2 separate regions of the Homo sapiens genome follow, and region 1 is linked to region 2. The links are contacts of gene promoters, found by promoter capture Hi-C in human tissues and cell types (Jung and others, 2019). All regions are on one chromosome and are shown on one strand. The core of a region is centred on a gene start or on the middle of the fragment in contact, and the rest is flanking DNA. Distances in the headings are between cores, read along the strand shown. Region 1 has its middle 9.2 kb from the start of ZBTB32. Region 2 holds the start of ARHGAP33 (Rho GTPase activating protein 33).

Region 1 (2,700 bases), core at 168-2,667, 80 kb after region 2:
TGGTGGCGGGCGCCTGTAATCCCAGCTACTCAGGAGGCTGAGGCACAAGAATCGCTTGAACCTAGGAGGCAGAGGTTGTAGTGAGCTGAGATTGGGTCACTGCACTCCAGCCTGGGTGACAAGAGCGAAACTCCATCTCAAAAAAACAAAACAAAAAATTCTGATGGTGCATGCCATTGGTGCTGAGCCCTGGGGAAGACCCAGCCCCTGCCTTCAAACATTTCACCTGCTAGAGAGGAATTAGACCTCAAAACATATTCTTCAAGAGCCAAGTGGAAAGTGTAGGAACTGAAGCTGAGAAGAGGCACTTAAGCTAAGGGGAGAAGGAGTGGAGAAGGGTGAGGGACAGCTTCCCACAGGAGGCGATGATGTTTGTGCATCTTTTTGGGGGTACTTACTATGTGCTAGGCATGGTGCTTGGTAGAAAGGACACAGTGGGAAGCAAAGAAGAGACTGAATGTAATGGTCTGCTAGGGCTGTGTAACAAAATATCACAGACTAGGGGGCTTAAACAACAGACATTTATTTCTCACAGTTCTGGAGACTGGAAGTCCAAAGTCAAGGTGCCAGCAGGGTTGGTTTGTCCTGAGGCATTTGTCCTTGGTTTGTAGAAGGCCACCTTTTCACTGTGACCTCATATGGCCTTCCCTCCGTGTGTGTGCACTCCTGGTGTCTCTTTCTATAAGGACATCAGGGATCAGGGCCCCACCCTTATGACCTCACTTAACCTAAGTTCCCTTCTTTATTTTCTTTTTCTTTATTTTATTTTATTTTTGAGACAGAGCCCTGTTTTGTCACCCAGGCTGCAGTGCAGTGGCAGGATCTTGGCTCGCTACAACCTCCATCTCCTGGGTTCAAATGATGCTGTTTTGGCCTTCCAAGTAGCTGGATTTAGAGGTGCCTGCCACCACGCCTATCTAAGTTTTGTATTTTTAGTGAAGGCCGGGTTTCACCATGTTGGCCAGGCTGCTCTCAAACTCCTGACCTCAAGTGATTTGCCTGCTTTGGCCTCCCAAAGTGCTGGGATTACAGGTGTGAGCCACTGTCCTGGCCAGTTTACTTTCTTAAAGTATCTGTCTTGGGCTGGGCGTGGTGGCTTACACCTATAATCCCAGCACTTTGGGAGGCTGAGGTGGGAGAATCACTTGAGGCCAGGAGCTCGAGACCAGCCTGTCCATCATGGTGAAACCCTGTCTCTACAAAAAGTACAAAAATTAGCCAGGTGTGGTGGCGCACGCCTGTAATCCCAGCTACTTGGGAAGCTGAGGCAGAAAATCACTTGAGCCCAGGAGGTGGAGGTTGTAGTAAGCTGAGATTGCACCACTGCACTCCAGACTGGGCAACAGAGCAAGACTCTTGTCTCAAAAAAAAAAAGGCTGGGTGTGGGGGCTCATGCCTGTAATCTGAACACTTTGGGAGGCCGAGGTTGGCGGATCACGAGGTCAGGAGATCAAGACCATCCTGGCTAACACGCTGAAACCCCGTCTCTACTAAAAACACAAAAAATTAGCTGGGCGTGGTGGCGGGTGCCTGTAGTCCCAGCTACTTGGGAGGCTGAGGCAGGAGAATTGCGTGAACCCAGGAGGTGGAGCTTGCAGTGAGCTGAGATCGCACCATTGCACTCCAGCCTGGGACACAGAGCGAGACTCCATCTCAAAAAAAAAAAAAAAAAAAAGTTAACTGATGTACCCTGAACCAGAGTTGTTTTTAGACAACAAATATTGCTTGTCTTGACTCTGGGTACAGATATATATATATGTATCTTTTCTTTTTTTTTTTTTTGAGACAGGGCCTTGTTCTGTTGCCCAGGCTCCTGGCCTCAAACAATCCTCACATCTCAGCCTCCCAAAGTGTCCTCAATTTTCTGAATGGATTTTTATGAGAGGAACTTTAATACCAGGGATCCTATTTTGGTCATTTTGTCCAGCAGGGCTGGGAGCAGCTCTTCAAAAAGACCATTTTCTTGTCCCTTTACCTTCCCTGTTTTGCATGATTCTGTTTCCATTTGTAGAGGATCTGAGAAGGCAGCTGATTCTGTGAGAAACAATGATTCTACTTCATGTTTTAAATAGATCTGTTGGGTTAAGTGACAAGTCCCTAGCTAGACTCAAGAAGGCACTGGAGAGCTATGGTCCTGCCACTGTACTCCAGCCTGGGCGACACGGTGCGATTCTCATTTTCTCTCTCTCTCTCTCTCAGACAAAGTCTCCCCCTATTGCCCAGGCTGGAGTCCAGTGGTGCTACCATAGCTCACTGCAGCCTCGAACTCCTGGGCTCAAGTGATCCTCCTGTCTTGGCCTCCCAAAGTGAGGGATTACAGGTGGGATTACAGGTGTGAGTCACTGTGCCTGGCTGAGACCCCGTCTTTTAAAAGAAAGGGGAAGGGGGAGGAGAAGGGGTAGGAAGAAGGAGGAGGAGGAGGAAGAAGGCGGAGGAGGAAAGAGGAGGAGAAAGAGAAAAAAGGAGGAGGGAAGAGGAGGAGGGTGAAGGAAGGAGAAGGAAGAAGGAGGAGAAAGGAAGAGGGATGAAAGAAAAGAGGAGGGAGGAAGAGGAAGAGGGAGGAGGAGGAGGAAGGAAGAGGAGGAGGGAGAAGGAGGAGGGAGGAGGAGGGAGGAGGAGGAGGGAGAAGGAGGAGAGGGTGGCAGTGGAGGTCACTCCCTATAATGTGGAGCATAGCAGCCACCTGCTGGTCACAGCGCA
Region 2 (2,700 bases), core at 124-2,623:
CCTCAGGTCCCAACTCACATGTGCCCTCCTCCAGGAAGTTCTCCCTGACCCTTCAGGCTGCACCTGGCATCTCCTCTGGACTCTCTCCATCCCCTGAGGTTCCCCCATCCCAGGTTCCATGCCTTGACCAGAGCTTCTCCCTTCACAGCTCTGATCACTCTGAGATGGCACTGGTGGTGACAAGTTCATCTCTCTCATTGGACTATGACCGGCCTCCCAGAAGGAGGGCCCCAGACTGAGCTCCCCAGCATAGAGCTGGGCATTGAGTTGGTGTTCAGACATGATTGTTCCTGATTCTTTTCTGGGTCCCCAGTGCCAGCCCAGTCGCGCGCAGCAGGGACTGGGTAAAATCTGATGAATAAATTAACCAGCTGCCAGACAGATTCACTGGGCTGTAGCGTCTCCCTGCTCCATGTCCCTGCAACCCCCAGTCACCCTCAGGGTCTCACCCTCAGGGTCTGTCCCCCTCCAGCCCATAAGGTTCCCCAAGGCAGGATGGGAGCTGACTCTCTCTGTGCCTGGAGCGTGGGGCCTGCACAGAGGCGGTCTCAGTGAATGTCTGCTAAGTGAGGGAATGAATGGATGAATGAGCGGGAGCAGCATGGTGGGAGAGGGAAATGGTGGGGGAGGGGGATGAGGACAAGGAGATGGAGCAGACCCGAGGATCAAGGGAGGTACAGTGCTGGCCTGTTGGGGTGGAGTAAGGAAGGAGTGGCTGGAGAGACGAGGCAAAGGCTCAGACTGATGCGGGGCGGGGGGGATTGAGAGGAACTGGGATAGGGTGAAAATGAGGGAGAAGGAGAAGAAAAGGGTCAGGCTGGGGATGGAGCGGGTGGGGGGTGGGGCTCGGGAATGAGAAAGGGGCTGTGGGGAGGAGGAGGGGGCTCCGCCGGGGAGGGCTGAGGGCTGGCAGAAGGATGCCGAGGAAGGTGCTGGGATGGGAGCTGGGGAAGGACCCAGGAGCCTCAGGAGGCCCCTGCAGGGGCCACTTGGGTGGCGCGGGTCCCTTCCTGGACTAGCCCCGCCTCCTCCCAGCCCAGGCCCTAGGTCCCTGTCACCCCATCCAGGGCGTGGAAGACGGGGATGCGCGCTTAGGGGGCGGGGTCGAGGTACGGGCTGGGACCCGGGATGGGGCCGCAGGACGGGAGGGACCACGGCTGAAGCACAGGCCGCGGGATCGGGCGGGGCCGGGGGCGGGGCGCGCGGGGCGGGGCTGCGCACGGACAGACTGACATCCGGACGGACAGGCTGACGGCCGCGTGGGACCCTTACCACCATGGTCGCGTAGCCTCCTCAGGCCCCGGCCGCGCTCGACCCCTCGCTCGCCGTTCTCGTCGCCGCTGCCGCCGCCATGGCGACACAAAGGGGAGGGCGCGAGCCGCGCGCGGGCGGCTGCAGACCCCGCCCCTAACGGCTGCCCGTGGCTCCGGCGCGCGCCCCACGGGGGCGGGGGGCAGCGGGAACGCGGCGCTGCTTCTCATTGGCTCCGCCCTTGGCCTTAGGCCGATGCCCCGCCCACCCGGAGGCTTCTCATTGGTTTCACCTTGGGCTCCGCCCCGGCTCTGTGTCCTCGGTCCCGCCCCTCGAAGTTTGACAGCGCCACGCCCATGACTGCTTTTCATTGGCTGTCATCGCCCTCCTGAGACAAGCCCCCAGGTTCTTTATGCTTTGCTTCCGACACTTCCAACACCAAGCAATGGACCCTACCTTTCGTCCACTCCCAGTGTCCATTCTTCTGACTTTTTTATTTTTATTTCTTTAAGAGACAGGGTCTCACTCTGTCGCCCAGGCTGGAGCGCAGTCCTGCAATCGTGGCTTACTGCAGCCTCAACCTCCTGGGCTCAAGCGATACCTCCCATGTAGCTGGGACTACAGGCGTGCGCTACCACGCCTGGCTAATTTTTTTTAGACATGGGGGTCTCACTATGTTACCCAGGATGGTCTTGATCTCTGGGGCTCAAGAGATACTCCCTCCTCAGCCTCCTTTCAAAGCGCTGGGATGACAGGCGTGAGCCACCACGCCAGCCAGCCCCTGATAGTCTTAATTGGATTCTCCCACGGCCTCAGAGCAGTGCCCAGTTCCTTAAGCAGCTTTTCAAAGTCCCAGTCCCAAGTCTCACCTTTTCAGTCCTGATCCCGACCCCGCTCACATAATGCCGAGGACGCTCCGCCCATGGACGTTTCTCGTTGCCTCATATACCTTGCCTAGGACGTAACCCGAGGCTTTCTGCGATTTGGCCTCCCCTGCCCACTGGACATTTTCTTGTTTCCCCTTCTACTGCTTATTACGGGCCAATCTCCAGCCTTGATTTTTTTTTTCTAGGAAAATGCTTAGGGGGAAATGCCAGATCATGCTTATGCCCCCCATAAAGCCATTCCCAATGGAGCCTGCTAATACTGAGCATGCCCAGATAACACTGTAATAACGCCCTTCACAGGAGGGTCTCTCCTTAGTCATGCCCTCAACAAATTCTCATCTCAGAGGGTCTTGGTCTGTTCATTCATTCATTCATTCATTCATTCACTCAAACTCTAATCAATTTGTACATACATCAACAACCAAACCAGGAGAAAATATACCCTGCCCACATTGGAGCTCAAAAGCTACTGGGAGAAGACAATGAACAAAATTAACATTAAACAAAATATAGAATATTAGGCCAGGCGTGGTGGCTCACGCCTGTAATCCCAACACTTTGG

Evidence for each region. Contacts are between HindIII fragments. The study calls those that stand out against the background at their distance.
Region 1: a fragment that was not itself captured here is called in contact with the fragment with the promoter of ARHGAP33 in region 2 in 8 of the 25 tissues and cell types used here (H1 embryonic stem cells, adrenal gland, bladder and 5 more).

Annotation. Positions count from the first base shown.
Region 1 is chr19:35,693,986-35,696,685 of GRCh38, reverse strand. No RefSeq gene overlaps it. Among named protein-coding and RNA genes, the nearest start is that of ZBTB32, 9.2 kb to the left of the region's middle. The HindIII fragment of the contact is 5,192 bases long and covers 1-2,700 here.
Region 2 is chr19:35,774,237-35,776,936 of GRCh38, reverse strand. ARHGAP33 (Rho GTPase activating protein 33) reads right to left here and starts at 1,373. Exons shown (of 21, transcript NM_001366178.1): 1 at 1,273-1,373. The coding sequence starts at 1,278. RefSeq lists a silencer at 1,112-1,591 and an enhancer at 1,822-1,881. The HindIII fragment of the contact is 39,613 bases long and covers 1-2,700 here.